Regions from separate parts of the Homo sapiens genome. Here regions 1, 2, 3, 4, 6 and 7 are each linked to region 5. Evidence: promoter capture Hi-C in 16 types of primary human blood cells and fetal thymus (Javierre and others, 2016). All regions are on one chromosome and are shown on one strand. The core of a region is centred on a gene start or on the middle of the fragment in contact, and the rest is flanking DNA. Distances in the headings are between cores, read along the strand shown.

What was found. The method cuts DNA at HindIII sites, captures the fragments that hold promoters and counts their contacts. A CHiCAGO score of 5 or more calls a contact.
Region 1: a fragment that was not itself captured here is called in contact with the fragment with the promoter of IGFBP3 in region 5 in 6 of 17 cell types (M1 macrophages, M0 macrophages, M2 macrophages and 3 more); the score reaches 14.8 in M1 macrophages.
Region 2: a contact is called between a fragment that was not itself captured here and the fragment with the promoter of IGFBP3 in region 5, in 6 of 17 cell types (M1 macrophages, M2 macrophages, monocytes and 3 more). The highest score is 10.2, in M1 macrophages.
Region 3: a contact is called between a fragment that was not itself captured here and the fragment with the promoter of IGFBP3 in region 5, in 7 of 17 cell types (M2 macrophages, M0 macrophages, M1 macrophages and 4 more). The highest score is 10.4, in M2 macrophages.
Region 4: a fragment that was not itself captured here is called in contact with the fragment with the promoter of IGFBP3 in region 5 in 12 of 17 cell types (total B cells, M0 macrophages, M2 macrophages and 9 more); the score reaches 88.4 in total B cells.
Region 6: a fragment that was not itself captured here is called in contact with the fragment with the promoter of IGFBP3 in region 5 in 9 of 17 cell types (M0 macrophages, M1 macrophages, M2 macrophages and 6 more); the score reaches 20.1 in M0 macrophages.
Region 7: a fragment that was not itself captured here is called in contact with the fragment with the promoter of IGFBP3 in region 5 in 1 of 17 cell types (naive CD8 T cells); the score reaches 6.7 in naive CD8 T cells.

The regions. Positions count from the first base shown.
Region 1 is chr7:47,139,229-47,142,944 of GRCh38, reverse strand. No RefSeq gene overlaps it. Among named protein-coding and RNA genes, the nearest start is that of SNORD151, 320 kb to the left of the region's middle. The HindIII fragment of the contact is 2,973 bases long and covers 107-3,079 here.
Region 2 is chr7:47,155,493-47,159,169 of GRCh38, reverse strand. No RefSeq gene overlaps it. Among named protein-coding and RNA genes, the nearest start is that of SNORD151, 310 kb to the left of the region's middle. The HindIII fragment of the contact is 5,824 bases long and covers 1-3,677 here.
Region 3 is chr7:47,121,224-47,124,708 of GRCh38, reverse strand. No RefSeq gene overlaps it. Among named protein-coding and RNA genes, the nearest start is that of SNORD151, 340 kb to the left of the region's middle. RefSeq lists an enhancer at 1,793-2,292. The HindIII fragment of the contact is 5,266 bases long and covers 1-3,485 here.
Region 4 is chr7:47,181,172-47,184,827 of GRCh38, reverse strand. No RefSeq gene overlaps it. Among named protein-coding and RNA genes, the nearest start is that of SNORD151, 280 kb to the left of the region's middle. The HindIII fragment of the contact is 1,284 bases long and covers 1,494-2,777 here.
Region 5 is chr7:45,919,125-45,922,666 of GRCh38, reverse strand. It overlaps IGFBP3 (insulin like growth factor binding protein 3), which reads left to right and starts at 1,395. Exons shown (of 5, transcript NM_000598.5): 1 at 1,395-1,929. The coding sequence starts at 1,527. RefSeq lists enhancers at 431-1,011, 1,012-1,592. The HindIII fragment of the contact is 8,094 bases long and covers 1-3,542 here.
Region 6 is chr7:47,199,597-47,203,011 of GRCh38, reverse strand. No RefSeq gene overlaps it. Among named protein-coding and RNA genes, the nearest start is that of SNORD151, 260 kb to the left of the region's middle. The HindIII fragment of the contact is 901 bases long and covers 1,124-2,024 here.
Region 7 is chr7:47,828,406-47,831,668 of GRCh38, reverse strand. PKD1L1 (polycystin 1 like 1, transient receptor potential channel interacting) reads left to right here. Exons shown (of 57, transcript NM_138295.5): 42 at 317-452; 43 at 1,545-1,629; 44 at 2,068-2,244. Among named protein-coding and RNA genes, the nearest start is that of PKD1L1-AS1, 35 kb to the right of the region's middle. The HindIII fragment of the contact is 5,313 bases long and covers 1-3,263 here.

The DNA of each region.
Region 1 (3,716 bases), core at 344-2,843, 1.2 Mb before region 5:
AATCTAAGATTGATGTCCTTTAAACTCCATTAAGGCTGACATCCACTTAGTAGATTAGAAGTAACTGTGTGAGGGGCTTAGAAGCTTCTGGAAGGAAGAAGAAGCTTCGAAACGAGCACAGCCCTGCAGAAAGTAGCGCTGATCTTTGGAGAGAAGACGATTATGAGTGCAGAACTATCTGCCAGACCAGCCGTATGACACTCGACGACTCTGAGTGCTGTGGAGTGCAGGGTGGAGCAACATGAGAAAAACCTATAATAAGAACACTTGAACTTAAAAAATGTGTAGTGCATTTGAGGCAAAAAGAATATTTTTGTGACAACACTAACCAGACAGTGTTTCAGAGGGTGGGAGGAGTCCCCCTTATCACTATCCACCATGCAGTTTGGACGCTGAGGGCTTTGCTCCTGTGGCACTGTTGGTTGCCTTTCTAATTTTCTCACTACTCTTTGCTAAAGAACTTTCATTTTGTGAGAGACAGGAACACGCCCAGCCCCCAGGCAATGCATCATGATTGATTTGGACTCATTATGACTAGAAATGACAGCCTCATTCCTCTTTGTCAGATTCTTAATTTTAGAGCTTTCTTGATGCTCAACAAGATCTTTTGGTTCTTCTCATTCCAAGCACCTGGTTCATGACTGGTACATCTGTGTCATACTTTTATCAAAACAAGATATTGTTCTTCACGCTATTAAGCAATCTTTCCTTAAATTTCTGCCTGTCTCATCATGATCACTGCTTATTATCTCCTTAATTTTCTTTTTCTGTATCTTTGTTATATTTTACGTTTTCCATGTCATTTTGTTTCATACATATATCTTTATCTTATATTTAGTAATATATATTTTATGTATATATTTGAAATAGTATCTAGTAGAATATATATCTAATAAAATATATTCTGCCATGGGATTTGTTTGAATCCAATGAGATTCTGTAACCTTTTATACATAGAACTTACAGCAATTATTTGACATAGTGGATAAAATCAATCACATTTTTGGGAAATAACTTTCTTGCAAAGGACAACAAACAAAATGCGTTAAATATATATTTTAGATCTTATTAAAAATCCAAGATCAAAAATTGTTTGATGTATTGAATTTTGTTTTGGGGCAGGGCAAAGTAATGGAGTGTATGTTTGCCTCTTGCCTGAAACAAAACAAATTAGCAAAACATATAAAACAATATGTTTTAATTAAGACACTGAATATCAGGCAGTAAAGGACCATCATCTCTGAGAGACAGGAATAGAACAAGGTGAGCCCTATAATTTCTCTAGCTTACTGCCTTGAGAGGGTTTCCAGTATCAGGGGCAGGAAGAGGGAACCCAGACAGCCTGGTGGAGTTCTGAGTTGAAGAGATGAAGCTGAGAGTCAATGGTAACAAAGTGGCTAGAATTTGCTCAACTTGGTTCTTGAGAGAAGAAAGGGCACACAGAAAGAACTCTGGCAACCTGCAGATGGCATACAATGTGTTCACATAAATCCCTGATTGCAGAAAACTACCCAAGGCCAAGGAGAGAAGCATCTGGAAGGATGAAAAGCAAAAGTACCCAATACTCACACTTGGCTGCAAAGAATGTCTATTCCATCAGACAGCCTGGAAAGGCGTGAGATTCATTAAGAATTAGGTAGAGTACACAGGAAGGCTTTGCCTCAATAGAGGGAAATATTTAGCCCTAAATTGGGCACTATTCTGGTCACAACTAATGAATATTAAACCCCAGAGTTTCAAACTGTTTCCACATGATTTAACTGATCAAAGCTCAAGAATATGTATAGGAATACAGAAATATCCAGTTCCCAACAAAGCAAAATTCACAGTATATGAAATTCAATAAAAATTACAAGGCATGCAAATAAGCAAGAAAATATGACCTGTAGCGAGGAAATAAACAGAGCCTCAGAGAACTGTGGGACAACTGCAAGTAGCCAAATATACGTGTGATTGAAGTGCCTCAAGGAGAGGACAGAGGGGAGGAGCTTAAAAATATTGAATAGTCAAGAATTTTCCAAGTTTGATAGAAACTATAAATCCACACATTTAAGAAGCTAAATAACTTTAAGTATAAGAAAAATGAAGAAAACAAAACTAAGGTATATCATAACCAATTTGCTCAAAACCAGTGATAAAGGAAAAATAATACACACGATGCACCTTTTTCACTAGCTGCTAGTAAAAGCTAGGAAAAACATCTTGGAAAAAAGGTGCATTATGTTCAGACCAGCAGTGATAAGGATGACAGCAGATTTCTTATTGGAAACCATGTAAGTAAGAAGACAGCACGGTAACATTTTTAAAGTACAACAACAACAAAAGTCCAACATGCCAAGTGAGAATCCTATACTTGGTGAAAATATGTCAAAAATGAAGCTAACTAAAGACTTTTTCAGACATAGAAAAGCAGAAAGTATCTATTGCCAGCAGACACATAAGAAATGTTAAAGAAAATCCTTCAGGCAGGAGGAATATTCTACCAGATGGAAATACGGATCTATGAAATTAATAAAAAACTATTGAAATTGGAATTACATGAATAAATACATGGAATTTTCCACTTATTACTTAAGTCTCTTTGAAATATGATTGACAGTTTTCCAGAAGTAAAATTGCTGAATTATATAGTGATTCTATTTATAGAATTCTATTTTTTTGAGGTACCTCCATACTATTTTCCAAAATGGCTGTACTAATTTATATTTCCATGAATAGTGTGCAAGTTTCCCTTTTCTCTACATCCTCACCACCTCTTGTTAACTTTCATCTTTTTTATATTAGCCATTCTATGGGGTGATTTTTCACTGTGGTTTTAATTTGCATTTCCCTGGTGATTAGAGATGTTGAGCTTCTTTCATAAATCTTTTGGCCATTTGTATCTTTTCTTTTGAGAAGAGTCTGTTTAGATCCTTTGTCTGTTCTTTAAAAAGGTGTTCTATTTTCTTGCTATCGAGTTGTTTGAGTTTCTCATATATGTTGGATATTAGTCCCTTGTTAGATGTATGATTTACAAATATTTTCTCCCAGTCCATGGGTTGTCTCTTCAATCTGTTTTTTCTTTTGCTGTGAAAAAGCTTTTTAGTTTTATGCAATCTGATTTCTCTGTTTTGGCTTTTGTTGTCTGTGCTTTTGCAATACTTTCCAAGAAATTATTGCCAATACCATTGTTGTGGAGATTTTCCCCTATGTTTTCTTCTAGTAGTTTTAGAGTTTCCAGTGTTATGTTTAAGTCTTTTATCCATTTTGAGTTGATTTTTGTATATGGTGTGAGATAAGAGTCCAATTTTGTTCTTCCACATGTGAATACTCAGTTTTCCCAACATAATTTGTTAAAACACTGTTCTTTCTCCATTATGTGCTCTTTGTACACTTGTAAAAAATCAATTGATTGTAAATACTTCTGGTCTTTCTATTCTATTCTATTGGTTGATGTGTCTGTTTTTATGCAGTACTATGCTGTTTTGATTACAATAGGTTTATATTTTGAAATCAGGGAATGTGATGCCTCTAGTTTTATTGTTTTTGCTCAAGATTGCTTTGGCTATTTGAGTTCCATATCAGTTTTAGAATATTTTTCATTTCTGTAAAAATAACATTGAAATTTTGATAGGAATTGTGTTAAATATGTAGCTTGCTGTGGACAGTATGCACATTTTCACAATATTAATGTTTTCAACTCATGAACATGGAATATGTTTTCATGTATTTGTGTC
Region 2 (3,677 bases), core at 373-2,872, 1.2 Mb before region 5:
CCTTTCATTTCCATCAGTTGTAATTTATGGATTTTGATGCCTTGTTTTTCAGTGGATAGATGTTTAGGATTTTTATGTCTTCTTGGAGAACTGACCTCTTTATCATCATGTAACACCGTTCTTTACCCATGAAAAATTTCTTGTCTGAAGTCTGATTTGTCTGAAACTAATATAGCCACTTGAAATTCATTTTGCTTAGAGTAAGCATGGTTTATTTTTCCTCTTGCCTTTTGCTTTTCACATTTCTGATTATATTTAATGTGTGGGGTTTTTTTTGTAAGCAATACAGAGTTAGGTTTGTTTTCAATCCACTCTGACAATCTCAGTCTTTTAATTGGTGTATTAAAATCATTCTCAATCAAGTGATTATTGGTACAGTATAGTTGGATTAATATCTGCCATGTTTGTTACTGTTTTCTATTTATTGTGGTTTTTAAAACCTCTCCTCTTTTTCTGCTTTCTCTGGTTTTAATTGCACATTTTCTATGACTCTATTTTATCTCCTCTACCAGCATATCAAGTACACTGAAATTTTTTGTTGTTGTTGCCCAAAAGTGTATAATACACATTTTTAACTAACCTAAGTCCCCCTTCAAATAACACCATACTGATTCAGGCACAGGTGTCTTGTAACAGAATTCTTCCAATTCCTCCCTCCTGTTCCTTATAACATTGTTGTCACACATTTCATTTTTTCCATATACTATAAGAATCCAGTACATTGTTACTATGATTAAACAAATAGTTATTATTTATTTATTTATTTATTTTATTTTACTTTGAGTTCTGGGATACATGTGCAGAATGTGCAGGTTTGTTATATAGGTATATGTGTGCCATGGTGGTTTGCTGCACCTATCAACCTGTCATCTAGGTTTTTAGCCCCGCATGCATTAGGTATTTGTTCTAATGCTCTGCCTCCCCTTGCCCCCCACCCCCAAACAGGCCCCGGTGTGTGATGTTCCCCTCCCTGTGGCCATGTGTTCTCATTGTTCCACTCCCACTTATGAATGAGAACATGCGGTAACAAACAGTTATTTTTCAGATCAATTAAGAATGAGAAAAATGAAGTATTTTGTTTTACCCTCACTTATTCCTTCTATGATGAACTTTCTTTCTTAGGCAGATTCTAGTTTCTGGCCTGTACCATTATCTCACTGCCTAAAGAACCTCTTTGAACACTTCTTGCAGGGCAGGTCTGCTTGCCGTGAATTATCTCAGTTCTGGTTTGTCTGAGAAAGTCTTAATTTATCTGTCCTTTTTGAAGGATAATTTCGCCAACCTAAAATCCTATAGGTTGGTATTTTTTTTCTTTTCAACATTTTATTTTATTTTATTTTGAGATGGAGTTTCACTCTTGTCACCCAGGCTAGAGTGCAATGGTGCGATCTCAGCTCACTGCAACCTCCACCTCCCGGGTTCAAGTGATTCTCCTGCCTTAGCCTCCCAAGTAGCTGGGACTACAAGCATGTGCCACCACACCAGGCTAATTTTTGTATTTTTAGTAGAGACAGGGTTTCACCACATTGGCCAGGCTGGTCTTGAACTCCTGACCTCAGGAGATCTTCATGCCTTGGCCTGCCAAAGTGCTGGGATTACAGGCGTGAGCCACTGTGCCCAGCCCTTTTCAACATTTTAAATATTTCACTTTGTCTTTTTTCTTTCATAGCTTCTAAAAAGTCTTCTGAAATTCTTACTTGTATTCCTCTATAAGTAAAACGTTCTGTGCCACCCCGAATTTTATTTCAAGATTTTCCTCTTTGTCTTTGATTTTCTAAAGTTTGAATATGGGATGATATTTACCTTGCTCATTGTTCTCTGAGTTTCCTAGATCAGTGGTTTGGTCCCTGTCATTAATTTTGGAAATTCTCAGCTATTGTTACTTTAAATTTTCTTCTGATCCATTTTCTTTTATCTTTCCTTCTGGTATTTCAATTATGCATATCTTATATCTGTAGAAATTGTCCTACAATTCTTGAATATTCTGGTTTTTTTTTTTTACTTTTTTTCTCTTTGCATTTCAGCTTAGGAAGTTTCTATTTGGCTGTCTTTAAAATCACTGATTCTTTTCTTTTAATTAAATAAGAAAAGGTTTATTGACAGACACTATCTGACATATAGTAACTGCTCAATGACTAGCTGCTAAATACTTTAATCATATTTTTAATCGCTATATATAGTATTCTGCCATATTAACTTACAACATTTACGTATCCATTACCAACACAAAAAATATTTTTCTTTTAAAAAATTTCTGCGATAAAAATAGTGATTTAATGAACAGCTTTGAGCCTCTTGGGCAAACAAAGGAGTTTTTCTAGGGCATATACATAGAAGTAGATTTGTTGAGTTATGTGCATACAGATTTCAATTAGACTAGACACTATTAAGTTCATTCCAGCATGGGATGCCAATTTCCACCCCAGCCTGTAGGATATCAAGACAGGTCTTGATTTTCTGCAGCCTCAACATTTTAAAAAATTGTGATTAGAAAAAAAACTACCACATAATGTAAAATTTCCACCTAGACCATTTTTAAGGGTACAAGTCGGTGTTGTTAATGATATTTACATTGTGCAACAAATATCCAGAACTTTTTCATCATTCCAAACTGAAATGCTGTACCCACTAAACAACAACATGCCTTTCCCCCTTTCCTCCAGTCCCTGGTGGCCACCGTTCTACTTTGTGCTTTTATTAATCTGAGTACTTTAGATACCTCATATAAATGAGATCATACACTAGTCCTCTTTTGGTGGCTAGAAGCATTTCTTTCTAGTTCTTTCTTCAAGTTTTCATCTCTGCTTCCATTAGTTATCTGTTACATATTGCCTCCTTTTTCTATGAGAGTTCTTAACATATTAATTATAGTTATTTTAAATATGCTGTCTGATAGTTTTTAAATCCGTATGATGACTAATATAAAGTATCAACTTCACTGGATTGAAGGATGCAAAGTATTGTTCCTGGGTGTGTCTATGAGGGTGTTGCCAAAGGAGATTAACATTTGAGTCAGTGGACTGGGAGAGGCAGACCCACCCTCAATCTGGGTGGGCGCCGTCTAATCAGATACCAGCGTGGCTAAAGCAGGCAGAAGAAGGTGGAAGGAGTGAACTTGCTGAGTCTTCCAGCCTTCATCTCTTTCCTGTGCTGGATGCTTCCTGCCTCCAAACATCTGACTCCAAGTTCCTCGGCTTTTGGACTCTTGGACTTACACTGTGGTTTGCCAGGGGCTCCTGGGCCTTCACCCACAGACTGAAGGCTGCACTGTCGGTTTCCTTGCTTTTGAGGTTTTGGGACTTGCACTGTCTTCCTTGCTCCTCAGCTTGCAGATGGCCTATTGCAGTACTTCACCTTGTGATCATGTGAGTCAATACTCCTTAATTAACTCCCCTTCATATATACATCTATTCTATTAGTTTTGTTCCTCTAGAGAACCCTGACGAATACACTCTGTATTACTTAAGCCTAGTTCTAATGTTTGCTTTGTCTCATAAGAAGTGTTTTTTCATGCCTTTATCATGCTTTGTCATTTTTGTTGTTGTTAGAAGGTAAATCAGAAGTGAGGTCAACAAGATGAATCCCACTGTTATGTTGCTAGAGCCCTTCTGGTGTGGGGTTAAGATATGCCCCTGGCATTTTAAATTTGGTAAAACCCTAGAAACTGAAGATAAAAA
Region 3 (3,485 bases), core at 850-3,349, 1.2 Mb before region 5:
TGCTAGGGGGTGGTTAGGGAGTAATTTTACAGTTTTTAAAGATAATTTTAGAAAGACTACCATGGCAAAGTGGCTAGGGCATAAAGCAGTGGGAAGAGAGTGGAGACAACTATACTTCCCCTGAAGGTGTGTGTGTGTGTGTGTGTGTGTGTGTCTGTGTATAAGGGTGGGAGCAATTCCTTGATTCTTTCAGTTCATTCACTTCTCAGCTAAAAAACTTCTGTTTCTAGTTTTGTATTTTTGTATCCTCAGGTGAGGTTTCTGCAAGTCAAACCCTTATGGCTGAATTTTATGTTTGAATACATTTTTCCATTGGGCACAGCTAGTAGCTGCATCTTGATGTCTACTTTCATTGAGAATCATAACTGTATTAGAAGAAGGAAGACATTTTTATTTTTGTAGCAAACAATTAGAAAAGGTGAAGATAATATATATATTTAAAGTGGATGTATTTATATATATTTAAAGTGGATACCATTTAAATATTTGGATACTTATATTTATATTTAAATAAGTGGATACCATTATATATATTTAAAGTGGATACCATCAGGCTCATACACGTAGGAGGCTCTCAATAAACTTGATGGTGGTTTAACCAAGTCTAAAGTTCTTGGTACACAACTGCACAAGTGAGACTCAGAACAGTGAAGTAGGTCCCCTAAATTGACTTAGTCAGCCAGTCCCAGTGCTAGCTAGTGTAAAAATCCAGGACATCCAAATCCAAGGCTTTCAATACCTCATGTCTTTATATTATTTATTTATTCATAGGTATTTATTAAACACCTTTTATGTGCCAGGCATTATGCTTATTCATAATTTTTTGGCATTGATCCAGGCCGCAATCAGAATGAAAGCACAATAAAAAGCCACAACTTAATTATCTTATTTTTCAGGGGCCTAGTCTTACATTCATTACATCCCCACATAATCTCCAAGAGAGATTTTTTTGCTGGCATTCTTCACCATCATTCAACTGTAGCAGTGTGAAGGCAGCTATTAGTGCACAGGTTTCTGTGGTTATTTGACATAAAATAAATGTCAGCTTTGTAATCTTAGTCCTTATGAAACAAGTGTTAACTAAATGGAGTGAGAACAACTCACATTTAAATTGCTTCTATTGTCCAATCCTTCAAAGGTAAAATGAACTCCTCCAAGTCACCATCAATGTTCTCATCAATAAGCAGACACTCCAACTGGGTATGCAGGGAAGATCTCTGGGTCTTTTAAAGACAAAATAACACACACTAATGAGTTAGAGAAACATATTGGTTTGTGACTCAAAAATGTGATTTGTTATCAGAAGAAATAACAACTAAAGCTGAGTTACTACCTATTCTGCAAACACGATTGCTCCCAGGAGTGACTTTCTGAAGTTCCAAGAATTAGAGGACTGCTTATCAAATTAAATAAAAATTAAATATGTTTACAATTTGTTTTCATGCATCCCAGAGTCTTTTTACTATTCTGTTGGCCTTTCTTTCTCTTCCCATGTCCATATAAGAGTTCGAAAACTCTACTGCAGATTTCAGCTAGCAATTGTATTTTAATCAAGTGTGAGAACAATTCTCTAACTTGCTACAGTTCAGAATCTTTTTCTACCAACCAAATGAAGAATGAGTTTGCTCAGGCTGTTACAGGGCATCATGAGTGGCCCCAAGTGATTCAAAGACCACCTTTGAATTGGTGTTGGTGTTTGGGCCTCTGGCTTCATCCCTTACCATGGGTGACCCTCAACCAGCCATTGGTGTGGCCAAGTCCTCAGCATCCTTGCTTCCGAATGGGAACGGATGCCTCTTGGGTTGTAGGAGAGTCTGTTAACTGTCAGCACTCTGAGTGAGCTGGGCCCTGCCATCACGTCTCTCCTCCCCACTGTGCCTGCCCCCCAGGGCCTCCACAATAGGCCCCTTGGTGCCTGCAGGGCCATCACTGAACTCAGCAGAGCACAGACACAGAGTTTATGCTTCATGAGGGATGCAGGAAGGTCAGTGGCACTGAGGAAAGTTAGGGTCACAAAATGTTTTAAATGGACTGCAGCCATAGCCAAGACCTGACCAGAAGGCTGTGGCCAGGCTTCTTGCTCCCGATGCAGCCCCTTCAGGTGAGGCAGAGGACGCAGTGGCTCAACACTGGGCCAGAGCCCAGAAACACAAGCCTTATTTTGGCTCTACTGGTCCCCATTGCATTTTTTTTCTCCTGTCCTCTGGCCTTCACAGCTGGGGTCACGAAGGCCCGAAGTGGCCATGGCGAGGTCGGTCCTGTGTTAATCCTGCCTTGCAGGAGTGGAGGGTTTCTCAACCTCAGCAGCAGGGACATTTGGGGCAGGGTAACTTTACTGTGGGAGGCTGCCCTGTGCATTGTAGGCTGTTAACAGCATCCCTGAGAAACACTCCCTGGATACCAGTAGCACTTCCCCAGTTGTGATGACCAAGAATGTCTCTGGTCATTGCCAGGTGTCTGCTGGGATTGGCCCTGGGTCAGAATCACGTTAGGCATGATGAACGTGACTAGTCCTGTACTGCCTCCTGTGCAAATCTGCTTTCGCACATTTGCCTGCTACTCCAGCCACATTAAACTTCCACTGGTCTCCAAATGCAGGGGCCATGGCACACCGCTGGCTCTTTACGCCTGCGTTTTCTTCCACAGGACTTTCCTATCTTCCTGGTCTGTTTGGAAAACTCATTCTGACTTGATAAGCCCCTCAAGGGTGTCTCCACAAACATTCCCCTGATCAGCTCAAACAGAATCAGTGGCTTCTTCCCTTGTATAATATTCCATTAGCCCACAGTGATCCATCATCCCGCAAGGGAAGCCTGCCATGGAGTTCCTGTCCCAATGGAAACAGAGGTCCTATGCCATTTCACTAGAGTGTGTTGTGTCCTATGAGAGGAGGGTTCCAGTGCTCCAGGACCCTAACAGTGAGGGTCTCTCTATGTCAGGGACCAGTGCAGGCCTCCTAAGGCAATGACAGCCCAGGGAGATGTGAAAGTGAACAGTGGTTGTTCAAAAGAACAGCAAGCATGGAAACACTGTGCTCTTGCAGCAGGGACTCATTTAAATCGTTCACATAGAAAATCCAAGTTTACTGAGCACCAAATATATTCCAGATTCCAAGTGCAGTGTGCATGGGAAGCAAGCCCTAACCTTGACCCTGAGGCGCTCATACGAAATGAGACCTGCCTATGCCTTGCTGTGTCCTTTGTCTGCCCTGGCTTGTTTCACTGCTTGGGGATGGGGGCTCCGGTCATAGCCATGCTGGCCATATGGAAACAGTGCCAAGGATGGTCTGTGTTTCTGGTTTCACTCACCAGAGGCTTGAGGGTCCCTTTAGCATGTGATTTTCATCTCTGGGAGGGAAATCTGGGCTGGCAAACAATTTAGAAGTCGTGGGGTTGAATAATACTGCTGAGAGAGAAGGAAGTAATGTCAAGAATAGATTCACAGGAGTTGGTATTCTTTTTGAGGCTCGTTCTTTCCCACCCCCT
Region 4 (3,656 bases), core at 886-3,385, 1.3 Mb before region 5:
CCCAGAGGACCCCTGCTTGGGATTTCATGTTAATCACATTCCTTTGCTTTATAGTCTAATCTCAGACATCCACTCTTCAAAACAATGCATTGCTTAGTTGCTTAGTGGAGCCTACTGTGAAATTTATGTACATGGAATTACAATGTGTCCACCATTCTGAAACTGACTTTTTATTCAGGCAATAGTATGTGTTTGAAACATTGTAACTTGTTGATGTAACTGTAGTTTATTAATTTCTCTGGTTTGGTCTTATGATTTTTCTTAAGCCTGCAGATGTGGTGAGTTCATTTACTGGTATTGCTCTATGATATTTCATGTGCGAAGAAGATACCACAACCTGTTTATTAATTGTACTCCCGAGGGAGTGCTGGCTGTTGCCTTCCCTCCTTGGTTTCCAGTGGGCAGAGAGCCATTCTGCACAGCTGGCCGTCTCCCAAGCACATGGGCACTTGTCTCTTTTGGGTGGAATGACTGTGTTGTAGAGTCTGTATATGCTCTGTTCTGTTAAATTTTGTCAAATTGATTTTCCAGGTGGTTGGGCCACGTTACCTTCCAGTTGGAAGTGTAGGGGGGTTTCCACTGCTCCACATCCTCACCAATGCTTGGTTTCTTATTTTTTATATTTTGCCAGTTTGATGGTTCAAAGGGGCACTGGATCGTGGTTCTAGTTTACATTTCTCTGGTACTGACGAGCCCCTTGGGGATAACTGGAGAGACGCTGAGTGACAGCGGTGGTCAGAACTGGATTCTGTAGGACGGGGTGGGGAGGAGTAGAAGGCTGCAGTGGCGGGGGGTGGGGCAGACGTGGGTCTGGCGCACATTCTTTCTGCTTTTTTCTCATTTGTATTGGTTCCAAGTTCAGTCTCAGAAGAATCACATCAATTCTGACTTGTAATTCTAGAGATCTCTATTTTCCAGAAATTTTCTATGAGAATCTTTGAAGCTTGAGGGCTGTGATTTTTCTCCAGGATGAAGGTTAAACCCTGTAAATGTGCAGAACGTTCTCCTAACAACCCATTCCAGTAAATGGTGCATGACAGGTGTGTAGGGCACTGTGGGTGAGGCTGAAGCATCACCCCAGATGCAGGGGTACATTCCTAGGAGCACAGACATGTGAACATGCTTCACCCTCCACATCTGACCCTGGGACTCACCCACTTCTCTCTACTCCCACTGCTCCCCTGGTCAGATGGCCCATTAGAAGGCTCAGGGAATGGTACCTTACTTTCATATAAAGCTGCCTTTACTGAATTTGCATATATTAATGATAGTATTCCAGCTTGACTGAAGCTGGGTGTGAGGTTTGTGTCTCATGGAATTGTTCTGGGAACTTCCCAGAAGGCATGTGAACTCTCTGACAACATTATAGGTACTCAATAAAGAGTAGCTAGTATCAATTTGCCATGTCTAATTGAACAAATACTATGACTAATTAACATGCTAAATGCAGGAGGTATGGTGATAAATAAAACAGTGCCTTGTCCCCTGAAGCTTACATTCTACTAGGGGAGACAGCTGCACACGTGAAACATATGAAGACATAAGGCAGTTTCAGATAGTGGCCCTTCCAACAGGGAGAGCCAGGTGGCAGAGTGAAAAGGAGAGGAGACAGAGCATTCCAGACAGAGGCAGAAATACCTGCAAATGCTCCCTGGTTATGAGCTCTGTGTGTTCTGGCAACAAGAGAAGTCAGGCAACTGCAGTGATGGTGAAGGTTAAAGGTCATAGAGATGTGAGGCTCCACCAATCCCAGGTGTGGGCCAAGGCACAGAGAGGGGAATGCTCTCTGTTTGTGTCTTATATCAGCATTTTGTGATAGGGTTCAAAGTTATACTCTCTGAGGGCTCCCACTTCCAGATCTAACAATACGGTAGATGCTGGGGAGGCTTAGGGTCTTCCTTGCTCCAACCCAGCCTGGGCAGGAAGAAACTTTTGATGCCTGCCATGGGGCAACATTAGCAGCCTCAGCTCACTCCAGCTCTTGTCCGGTATCTCTACTTGCATCCCATCAGTGGGACCCCAAACAGCTCTGGGGACCCCAGGGTGCAGGAACGATGCCCATCATCATGCTGGGCACCATGCTGTGCTATGGAGACCCTGTTGTCACAGAAGTAAACCATTGCCCAGTGGAGGAGGCCTACCCCTTTCCTCTTCCTGTACCATCACTCAGTGTCTGTGGTCCCCACCCCTGGCCTGGGGTTCCAGTGAGTCGTGGGTAATACTGGGCACACATTTATGAGTGTTTCTTACATGTGAATGCCATATGTGCCCCAGTGGAAAAAAAAATAAGGACTCATTTAAGTTTTTTATTATTTGGATCTTTTCCTGACACCTGAATGATGAGCATTGGAATGTTCTCACCAAATTTGTGTTATATAAGGACTACTTCTTGAATGTAAGATTTCAAAGGATGCTGAATTAGAACTTTGGCAATAGCAAAATACTTTTTTCCAAACCATCCCAAACTCTCCATGGATGGTGGCTTGTTTCCAATTTGGAATGGCTTCAGTTGAAGATGTTTTTTGCATTGGTCTTTGTGTTCACAGTCCCTGGTGAAGGGGCTGATAGGCTTAAAAGCAGCATTTGGGGAGAGAGAGAGACACACACAGAAGGAGAGAGGTAGGAGGGAGAGAGGCAGAGCGAGCAAGAGAGAGCTGTACTGTGTTCTTTCTCAGAAAGTACCTGGCAGGCTGGAAGCAGCTCATGTGCCAATATTTGAAAACTATAAATAGAGTCCTTTGGGATTGGCTTACATGAATTGGTAGGAATGCCAAGCTTGGGAAGCTGCTGGGGCATGGTGGGGGGAGAGCAGGGAACAGTGTGCTATTCCTAGGACAGGTAACGCCTCTCTTTAGTGTAGTGGGGAGGGCCCTAGGCGGACTGCAGAGAGGAGGAGCTGAGGTACAGGTGCACTGTCAGGTCAGACATGTGAGCAAGTTGGTGAGAAAATTCATTTGTTCAGCTTCATACTTGGGAAGCAGCTGTAGCATTCAGGGTGGGAATTCTCAGTCCTGCTGCAGCTGCAGCACTCAGGGAAGGACTCTGGGGCCGGGCTGGGACAGGGCTGAGCAGGGAGCTGGATTGAGGGAAGTTTGAAATCACGGATCTAGCTAACTCTTCTAATTTGATGATGGGGAGACTGAGGCTTGGCCCTTTGTTCTTTTTCCTGCACCACTGCCAATCTTTCATGGGGTAAAGACCAATTTTAATGCAGTTCACTGAGATTCTTCTGCCCATCTGTGGAGGAGGTTGGTTGGGGGGCCTGGACACAGGAAGACTGCCGTCCTCAGCTCCCCTAAAAGCCACTGCAGCACGGGATGCCTGGACTGGCTTCTCTCCAGCTTCATCTCAGAAGATAAAATGTCAAACTCAGAGCTATCCCACGCTTGTCAAAATGCGTCGCAAAGAAAACTCACGGAGACAAGCACCTAGGCATTTGCTAGTGTTCAATACTGTTCATTTGGTCCCAGCCTTAAGCCACATCATCAGAGTGCTCTGGGGACCACATGGCTTTCTTTTATTGCAGTACTTTTCCTGAATGCTCCTAAAATGTAATGTACATTGCAGGGACATTCTAAGACAGAGCCCTGTAAAATGCATGACTTTGCTCGCCATGAGGACATCGGTGAGGCTGTCCTTGACTACGCTACATCATG
Region 5 (3,542 bases), core at 146-2,645:
GGACAAGGAGAGACACTGGGCGAGAGATCGATTAGGAGAGACAGAAATGATGAATGAAGATTAACTTCACCCAAGGCTTCGTGCTGGAGGGGAATGGAGGAGCTCCTGATTTGCTATTACTACTCCAAACTGCAAAGGGCTCCTTCAAGTCACCTATCCACCTCCTAAGGCAAGCGTCCAATTTCAACAGCGTTCAGGAAAGTCTCCTCCCGCGGAGGTCTCACCGCTTCCCACTCCACCCCCACAAACTCTTTGGAAAAGTGCCTTGAAAAATTTAATCCTCAATCCAATCCTGGACCACCAGCGTCCTCTGTTGGTCACCGAAGGGAGGGGGTGCGCAGACAAAACTGAAGAAACTCGAGTGCCAGAGAAGGCCGACAGGAGTTACAGCGACCTCAGCGCGCAATTGCGCCCCCGAACTTTACTGAAAAGTGTTTAGATTGCAGAGATAAGCTAGAATCCCAACGCATCGAGAATACAGTAATACGAAGTCGCCTTCAAAAAATGACAATGAAAATTGCCTATTAAAGGACTATTTGGTTAATTACGTTTCAGCAGTGCCCAGTTTATTGTCTTTATTATTCTTTTGTCATGGGTGTAAACTCCATTTGAAAACATAATCAGGGAGAATACCCAAGACAAGAAGAACAGTTGTCATTTAAAATATTTGAAAAGCCCTGCCTTAAGGACGCATTCGCTTGCCGGTCCACTCTTAATTGGAGACTTGCGGTGTAGCAACACGTGAGAGTCTTCTTGCGTTGAGAAGTAAGCCTGGAAAGGGGCGAAGGCCCCGGGCGCATCTTCAGATGCGTATTTGTGGGCCCCTGGGGATATAAACAGCCCAGCGGGTGTAAATTAAACCCCGCAGTGCCTTGGCTCCCTGAGACCCAAATGTAAGTCAGAAATGTCCCAAGACTTCGCCTGCCAACGGAATTAAATTTTAGAAAGCTCCACGAGGTACACACGAATGCGGAGCGCTGTATGCCAGTTTCCCCGACACCGGCTCGCCGCAGGGAGACCTCACCCCGAGAGCGGAAGGGGTAAGGGCGGCGGGGTCAAGGAGATCGGGGGTGCTGAGTTGGCCAGGAGTGACTGGGGTGACCGGGGGTGCTGAGGTGGCCTGGAGTGCCGGGGTGGCCGGGCACACCTTGGTTCTTGTAGACGACAAGGTGACCCGGGCTCCGGGCGTGCGCACGAGGAGCAGGTGCCCGGGCGAGTCTCGAGCTGCACGCCCCCGAGCTCGGCCCCGGCTGCTCAGGGCGAAGCACGGGCCCCCGCAGCCGTGCCTGCGCCGACCCGCCCCCCTCCCAACCCCCACTCCTGGGCGCGCCGTTCCGGGGCGTGTCCTGGGCCACCCCGGCTTCTATATAGCGGCCGGCGCGCCCGGGCCGCCCAGATGCGAGCACTGCGGCTGGGCGCTGAGGATCAGCCGCTTCCTGCCTGGATTCCACAGCTTCGCGCCGTGTACTGTCGCCCCATCCCTGCGCGCCCAGCCTGCCAAGCAGCGTGCCCCGGTTGCAGGCGTCATGCAGCGGGCGCGACCCACGCTCTGGGCCGCTGCGCTGACTCTGCTGGTGCTGCTCCGCGGGCCGCCGGTGGCGCGGGCTGGCGCGAGCTCGGCGGGCTTGGGTCCCGTGGTGCGCTGCGAGCCGTGCGACGCGCGTGCACTGGCCCAGTGCGCGCCTCCGCCCGCCGTGTGCGCGGAGCTGGTGCGCGAGCCGGGCTGCGGCTGCTGCCTGACGTGCGCACTGAGCGAGGGCCAGCCGTGCGGCATCTACACCGAGCGCTGTGGCTCCGGCCTTCGCTGCCAGCCGTCGCCCGACGAGGCGCGACCGCTGCAGGCGCTGCTGGACGGCCGCGGGCTCTGCGTCAACGCTAGTGCCGTCAGCCGCCTGCGCGCCTACCTGCTGCCAGCGCCGCCAGCTCCAGGTGAGCCGCCCGCGCCAGGTGCGCTGCGTGCAGCACCCGGCGCACTGGCGCCGAAGGGCCTGGGGGTTGCTGGGTGCCGCTGCGGGAGACTCCGCTTTTCTTCTCACTGGAGATAATATGTGGGGAAACTGAAGGCGCTCCGGGAAAGGTGAAGGCGGTCGCCGGAGGGACCCTCCCCAGCCGGCCCTCTACTTGCTCGATTCTCTAAGTGCAGAGTACTTGTAAATTGCAAAGCGCTTTCAGTGAAAATGGGTTAAAGGTTTCCGGAGCTGAGGGGAGCGGTACCGATGTTTAGCTGTTGGAAAGATCCTGGACACAGGAGATTCTCCTCGCCCCGCACGGGGGTGCACACGGACTGCAATCCCAGGGATGCTTGGGGATGGGGGGGATATAGGCGGATTTGGACCAAGGAAGGTGGGCAGGCACGTTGTAGGAAATAGTACCTCTCTTTTAAAATACTGACTTTGCACAGCCTTTTGGTTTGCAAAGCAATGTCTAGTCCCGGTATGTCCAAAAACAAGTAAAGTGGATTCGGGTTTTGATATCTTCTGCGGTTGGAAAACCTGAAGCTGAAAAAGAAGTAACTTCTTAAGGTTACCCAGCGGCCACAACAGAGTGTAGGTTTGAACTCCGCGTGCCACTTTCAGTACCATACCATTCTTACAACTCGGGCCACCCCTGCACCTGCGCCGACCTCAAACAAACTTCCAGGTGCGTGGTGGGTGCGGGCAATGTGGACTAAGTCAATTTCAATGACACGGAAGGGAATTGGAATCAGTCCTAGGGCTGTCTCCCTTCTTAATCTGAAATGGGGGGGGGAATGAGATGTTGTTAAGGGGAGCCCCAGAAGAGGAAAAATGCAAACATTTGGCAGAGTTACCCTCTTGGCTTAGCCACTATCAGTATCAGGCAGACAGCGACTCTGGTAAGGGCATCACATTGTTCCCTTAAAAAAAGGAGCGGGGGTTGTTTAAATGGATTTGGCAGCTGTTCTTTCAAGCATTCTTAGCCAGCCTCACCTAGTTATATGAGAAATAAAGTTCCTGCCTTGCACAGCTGAAGGCTGGGAGAATTCTCCCCATCCTAATTCCCCCAACTCCCCAACGATCACGTTGGACAGATGTCACTGGGCAGGCCCCCATCTAGGGCTAGCAGGATGAACAGTCCCTTTATAATTTATGTAGCTGTAGAGTTCCACGCCCGGGTGAAGTTATTTTCTGGCTCGGCAAGGCTGGCTCTGTTCACCCCTGAGAAATGCTGGATTCATGGAAAGGCAAGATGCCTGAAACATACACTGGCTCTGGTCAGCTGTTAAAGCTGCTGGAGGCATTTGTCTCTCGGGGCAAAGTTATGTCATTTGCCAAGTGTCGTACATTATTGTGCATTTTGGGGTATTCAAAAAGTGATCTTAGAAATACTGATACACATCGTCATTCTTGGGCTTTAGCAATCATCATGATTACCACCTTAGTAGCACTGTAGTATAGGTTGATGTGAGTTATAAGATTATAAAAAGATCTAAGTGACTTCTAGAATCTATTTGACAAAAAAAGGTAAATTTTCGACAGTCAAAAGTCACAATTATCTGTTGCTTAAATAGAACTGTTTTGTCT
Region 6 (3,415 bases), core at 325-2,824, 1.3 Mb before region 5:
CATCCAGGTCATTGTGTTTCTTTATTTTCTATTTTTTTTATTATACTTTAAGTTTTAGGTACATGTGCACAACGTGCAGGTTAGTTACATATGTATACATGTGCCATGTAGGTGCTATACCTAATGTTAAATGACGAGTTGATGGGTGCAGCACACCCTCAGTCACTTTTTATGTGGCTGAATGAAATGTGAAATATATGTCCCCTCACCAAAACAAAAAGAGCTCATTGAATATGATGAAAAGAGAGAGCAGTTCCATGGGAACAGAAGCCAAATAGGCTGAGTGAAAAGCAGGGAAATGGAAAAACTCACTTAAAGGCACTGAGCAGCAGAGCTTGGAGGACTCCGAGAGCCCTTGCTGAAGCACATGGACAGGGCTGGGCGATGTGGCAGCAGCAGGCTGCTGGCCTGTGAGTGTGCTGTCGATGTCACAGCCAGCTCCAGGTATGTGGCAGCCACCACTGGAATCTCATCCCGAGCCCTGCCAGATGATGAGCTGTTGATATTGCTGATTTACAACACTCAAAGCCAAAGTCATCCAAATTTTTATGTCATGGCATAACATAAGCTCGAGATGGCTTTGTGTTTTTAATTCCCACCTACTGCCACTCAGCTTTCCAAAGCTGATGCTCGCCATGGGGACAAGCTCAGGCATGCATATTCTCTGGCATTACTCAATAGGCCTTGGCCCCAAATCTTTGTACAGTCATCTGGTTTTAACTCTGTGGACCACTGGAGCTGTAGGCACCTCTGAGGTCAGGCAACAGTGAAGTCTGCAGCCTCCATGGCTGAAACCAGCCCTTCTGAGCATCCACTCTGCCCCGTGCAACATTAGGACTCTAGATATCAACACTATGACTTTGAGAAAAAGGCAAACTCAAGACAGCAAAGAGAAAAATCATGCCTCCCAAAGGTGCGGAAATAACTAGTCCTGCTCTTCATAGTCCAGTGCATCAAAGAAAGTATGCCATCCTCCTTAACAAAGGATATGTGTGCAGCTTCTAACAAACCAACCAAAGGGTTGAGAAGAGAGAGGGGAATGATCCAAACAGATGAATTTTAAAAGATGGTCTCTGAATAGGGGGAGATTGTGATTGTGAGTATGCCATAGGAACTCAAAGCTTCAGTCCCATCTTGTTTGCATCAAGTCACCACTGCCTAGTAATTAACACTCTAGCCATCCTTCCCTTTGACCTTGCCTCACCATCTGGAGAGTCTCCTCAGGTAGATAAGTAGCTAGCTAGCTACATAGTATTATTTGATAGGTCATTGTTATGGTTTAAATGTTTTTGTCCTCTCCAAAATTGTTGGAAGCAATGACTGGATCTTCAGCAGATAAGAAACCTGCTGGCACCTTGATCTTGGACTCTCCAGCTTCTAGAACTGTGAGAAATAAATTTTTGTTCTTTATAAATTCCCCACTCTCAGGTATTCTGTTATAGCAGCACGAACTGACTAAAACAAAAATTGGTACCAGGGAATTGGGGTGTTGCTACAACAAAAACCTAAAACTGTGGAAATGGCTTTGGGACTGGATGATGGCTGGCACTGGAACAGGTTTGAAGGGAATGCAGGAAAAAGCCCAGATTGCCAAGAGTGGTGCATTCACAGTGATGGTGGTGAAGGCTTGGAAGAAAAGGAGAGCTGTAGGAAAACCTCATTCTTCTTAGAGATTACTTAAGTGCTTGGCCAGAATGCTGATAGAAACATGGACATTGAAGACTATTCTGCTGAGGTCTCAGATGAAAGTGAGAGACAGGTATGAGAAACTGGAGGAAAGGCCATTCTTGTTACAAAGAACTTGACTGACTTCTGTCATTGTCCTGGGACTTTGTAGAATGCACAACTTAAGAGCGATAAACTAGGATATTTGGTGGAAGAAATTTCTTCTAGCAAAGTGTTCAGGATACTGTATGGCTTCTCTTAACTGCTTATAGTAAAACGAAAGAAGAGAGAAATGATTTAAAGATGGAATTTGTAATTAAAAGTAAAACAGAACCTAAAGATTTTGAAAATTCTAAGCTTGTCTATTTAAAGAATAAATATGTATGCTTAGAAGAGAAAACCAAGGGTATGGCCAAATGAACATTTGATAAGGAAATTAACATGGATAGAAGGGACCAGATGCTATTCATCAAGACAATGGATGATGACCCCAAAGCCATTTCGGATATATTTGGGGTTCCCATGCTCATTGCAGGCCCAGAGTTCTAGGGCCTTGCGGGCAGAACAGTTTCTGGGGAGAAACCAGGATACCCATAGGACCTCAGGGTTTGTGGCCCAAGGCTGTCCCAAGTCTCTGTTCTCCACATTCTGGTGTAATGCTCCTTGGCCACCCCTGCTATGGCTTAGAGGGGACCTACATGCAGCTGGGGCCACTGCTACAGAAGACACAGGGAGTGAGATTTAATGTTGTTTATGTGGTGCTAATTTTTCAGGCAAGCAGAATGCAAGAGCTGTGGAGGCATAGCTACCTCCACCTAGATTTTCAAGAATGCCTTGAGGCCAAGGCATATCTGCCACAGCGGTGGGGCTGTTACAGAGAACCCACCCTATGGGAATGCTTAGTGAAGTTGTGGGGACAGGACCACCCCCAGAGACCTCATGGCTATAGAAACACCAGTGTGCAGCACCAGCCTGGGAGGGCTGTAGGCACCTGGACTCCCACCTGAGAGAACTGTGGTATGAGCAAAAACAAAAATCTCTAGCAGAGCCATGAGGGTGGGGGCTGCCAGGAATCTTGAGGGCAAATCTCTGCCCCAGTATGTCTGGAAGGTGATACATGGACTCAAAGAAAATTATTCTCTAGCCTTAAGATTTAATGTTTGCTCTGTTGTGTTTCGGACTTGTCATTTCTTTCTTCTTATTTCTCTCTTTTGAAATGAAAATGTTCTAATGTAAGTATTTCTTGTAAAAGTTTTGTATGAAAATGTTTATAGATGCATTATTTATAATAGCCCCAATCCGGAAACAGCCCAAATGTCTATCACTAGGAGAATGAATAAGTAAATTGCGGTATACTTGTGGTAAACACTTTTTATCTATGTAACAACATGGATGCCTGTCCCACTATTGTATTTTGGAAATACATATCTAATTTGATTTTACAGGTTCACAGCTGGGAGGAAATTAGCCTTAGGATGAATAGTTCCTTGAGTCTCACCCACATGATGTTTACATGAGACTGGATTTAAAATTTAAAATTAATTCTGAGATAAATTAAGACTTGGGGGCTACTGGGGCTGTTGAAATGGAGTGACTGCATTTTCTTTTTATGTAAGAAAGAAGTGAACTTTGGGGGCCAGGAGCAAAATGCTATTGTTTGAATGTTCATGTCCCTCCAAAATTTATGTTGAAACTTAATCCCCACTGCAACCATATTGGGAAATGAGGTCTTTGGGAGGTGACTGGGTCA
Region 7 (3,263 bases), core at 682-3,181, 1.9 Mb before region 5:
AGCACCAATGTCCCAGCTCAGCAGTCGGGCAGGAGTTCCCCTGTTCTCAGCCTGTGCGTTCTATTCAGGACCTCAAGGGATTGGAGGAGGCCTGTGGCTAGGAAGGCCCTCTGCTTCACTCAGTCTGCTGATTCAGATCTTAATGCCACCTGGAAACACCCCCAACCCCGAACACACTCAAAAATCACATTTAACCAAATGCCTGGGCACCCTACGACCCAGCCTAGTTGACACCTAAGATTCACCACCACACTCCGCGTGGATGGAGATGCCGAGGTCTCTTAAGCTGCCTTGTCTCTGTCCTACTCTTCCGCAGCACCCAGCAGTGGTTTGGAGGGACTAATGCCCCAGTGGTCAAGGGCCCTTCAGCCTTGGTGGAGCTCTGCAGTGTGGGCCATTTGTGGGACCGCTTCTTTGGCCTGCAGTTTGGGGACAGGATTTCTAGCCTACAGGTGAGCTGTAGAGTTTTTCAAACATCCTCAGGTCCTCAGATGGAAAGTCTCGCATTTGTAAACAAATCCCTGCATTTCTGGGAACTCATCAGATGCAGGCTCCAGATGTCACTATTGCTATTTTCTCCCTCATTTCTCCCTCCCATCTCCTGGGGTAAATAAAATCCTATGCAGATCCCAAAGGGTGGCTTGGCCTGGCCAGCTCTGCCATGGCAGCAGGCCTGGATGGGGTCCAGATATTAAACAAGAAGCTGCAGGACGCCCACCCAAGGAAGGAAGGAACCCAGCTGCAGAGCTCCTGAGAGGAGCAGGTTCCCAGCCAGGAACTCTGGCTAGAATATACTGTTCATGGTCTCCCATCATTTGAAAAAGCGTATGCCTTCGGGACAGGGATTATGATGCATGTGTCACAGATTCTGATCCTGTCACTCCGGCACATGGTACCTCTCTGGCTCCTGTACAGCTTGGACTCGCCATCGGAGACCCCAGGGTCACTCAGTGTGGTTCATAAACCACAAAGAGTAGCCTCAAAGCCAAGGCCCTTTCTTCCCGTCTCTCCCCTCTCCTCAACTGTAGATGTTGAATCACTCTGTGAGGATGGGCAGGTACTTAGACCTCTCTTGTGCCTCAGTTTGCTCATCTGTAAAATAGGAACATCAGAGAGCTTAATTCTTAGGGCTTGGGGAGGAGCAGCTGAAATATGAAAGCAGTCCTGTTAGCATCATGCCTGCCCCTGCGGAGCACCCGCCAGCATCCAGCTTTGTTGTTGTTGCTGCTATTATTATTATTATACCCCAACCCATTTTCCTCCCCCTTCCCCTCTCTGTGCTCTGTTTCATCTGCCTGTTGGGTTTTCCTTTCTCTTTCCCACTAGGCAGCTTCAGGGAGGTCGATGTCCTCTTGGCAGACAAGGGTTCCCCTCCGATGAGCAGAAAGACACTGCCCATGTCCAGCACCACCCCCACAGCAGGCTTCCTGCCACGGCGAGGCCATAGGCCCTCTCAGGCAGTGTCCCTGTGCTTAGGCAGCAATGACTGCTGGGTGGCCTGCTCCCTTAGAGGGGGCTGACCACTGCACTTTCCCTGGGGGCAGGTTTGGCCAGGAGCAATGTGTGCAGTGGCTGCACCTGCTGTCCCTCTCCGTGGTCTGCTGTATTTTCATCACCCAGCCACTTATGGTAAGAAACACCCTCCATGGTAGAAGTGCCTTCCATCAGCAGGGGACCTAGATGGGAAGGGGAAATAGAGGCTTCATTTTGGTTGTGTATGACTTTTCTTTATACCCTGATTTCAGCTGTGGTTGGAGAGAACCAGGAGCCAGGCTCTGTGCTAAGCTGCACATGGGCCTGTTCTTTAATCCTCATAAAAATCTTTGAGGAGGGTACCACTTTAACCCACGTTTTTTATTTGAGGAAATTGAACTCAGAGAATTTAGGTCTCTTGGGCGGGGCCATGCCTGGTGAGTAGTTGGGCTGGGAATCCAAGGCAGTGACTACTGGTGTCTTTAAAACTGGGAGATGGAGTCCTGTTCATGATTAGGGGACGGGAGGACAGCTCTGTGTGGAATGAACACAGACATAGGGCGGCTCTCTGCGCTGTCATGTTTTTCCTTCCAGGTATGCCTCATGGCCTTGGGTTTTGCTTGGAAAAGAAGAGCTGACAACCACTTTTTTACTGAGTCTTTATGTGAGGCTACCAGGGATCTGGACTCTGAATTGGCAGAACGTTCCTGGACTCGCCTCCCCTTCTCTTCAAGCTGCAGTATTCCTGACTGTGCAGGCGAGGTTGAAAAAGTAAAAAAAATTACCTATGCAGTGCAAATTGAGATTTAAAAAACTACTTTATATTCTATCATGCATATCTGAATGTAGGCTTTGAATTCAGATTGGGTTGCATCTTTGGAGACCCATGGGATGTCTTAATTTCTTATGCTTCTTTGCACATACCTGTATGATAGATGAACACATAGGACTTATTTTTTTTTAACTCCAATCCTAAAGAAGTTAGAGCATCAAGAAAATGAGCATATTTTAAAATACTGAAGCAAGTAAGAACTCTAATTCTTGGCCATGATTTTGGAGAACTTTTAGTCCATTTGCCCTTCAGTGAACCCACAGAAAATGTACTCCTCCCCATCCTTCCTCTCTCCCTGCCTTCATCCCTTTGTCCCTTCCTCCCTCCCTTTCTTCCTTCTTTTATTCAGTTTTGCCTGTTGTATGTGTAGCATTCTGTTGGGCAGTGTGAATGATATGAAGGAAGAGAGAGGTCTGCTGGCCACCGCAAAGACATTCACAGGCTCATTGACTAAGCACCTGAAATGCATGTGCAATTCTGTACTCTTGTAATAACCACAAGTCACTTACGACCAAGGACCCAATCCCAGTGCATTGAGAGTCAGACCCCGGTCTGGGCCTCTCCTCATCTCCACCCTCCTCCTCGCAAAGGATCCTAATAAACTCCATGTCTGAGGACCTGTCTGAGGCCTCTCAGCCCTGCCTAAAACCAAGGCTGCTGCTGCTGAAGATGGGTGGTGCACACAGGCTATGTACTAGTCATTATGCTGTTTTACATCTACACTGTATTTACATTTATCGGATCATTTGTTCCTTATAACACCTGATGAATTAGGCAGCATCCCTGCACCCCATTTAAAGATGAGGTGAAGCAATTAGACCCAGGCTACACTGCAGTAAAGGGGAGTCTGGGGCCCAAACCTGGCCCACCTTGCCCTTTCCTCCTGCACCCCCCGCCCTGCAGCACCTTAGCTCTTGAGAAGCAACGTTGCCCTTGTTCCCTCATACCTGTTGGATCT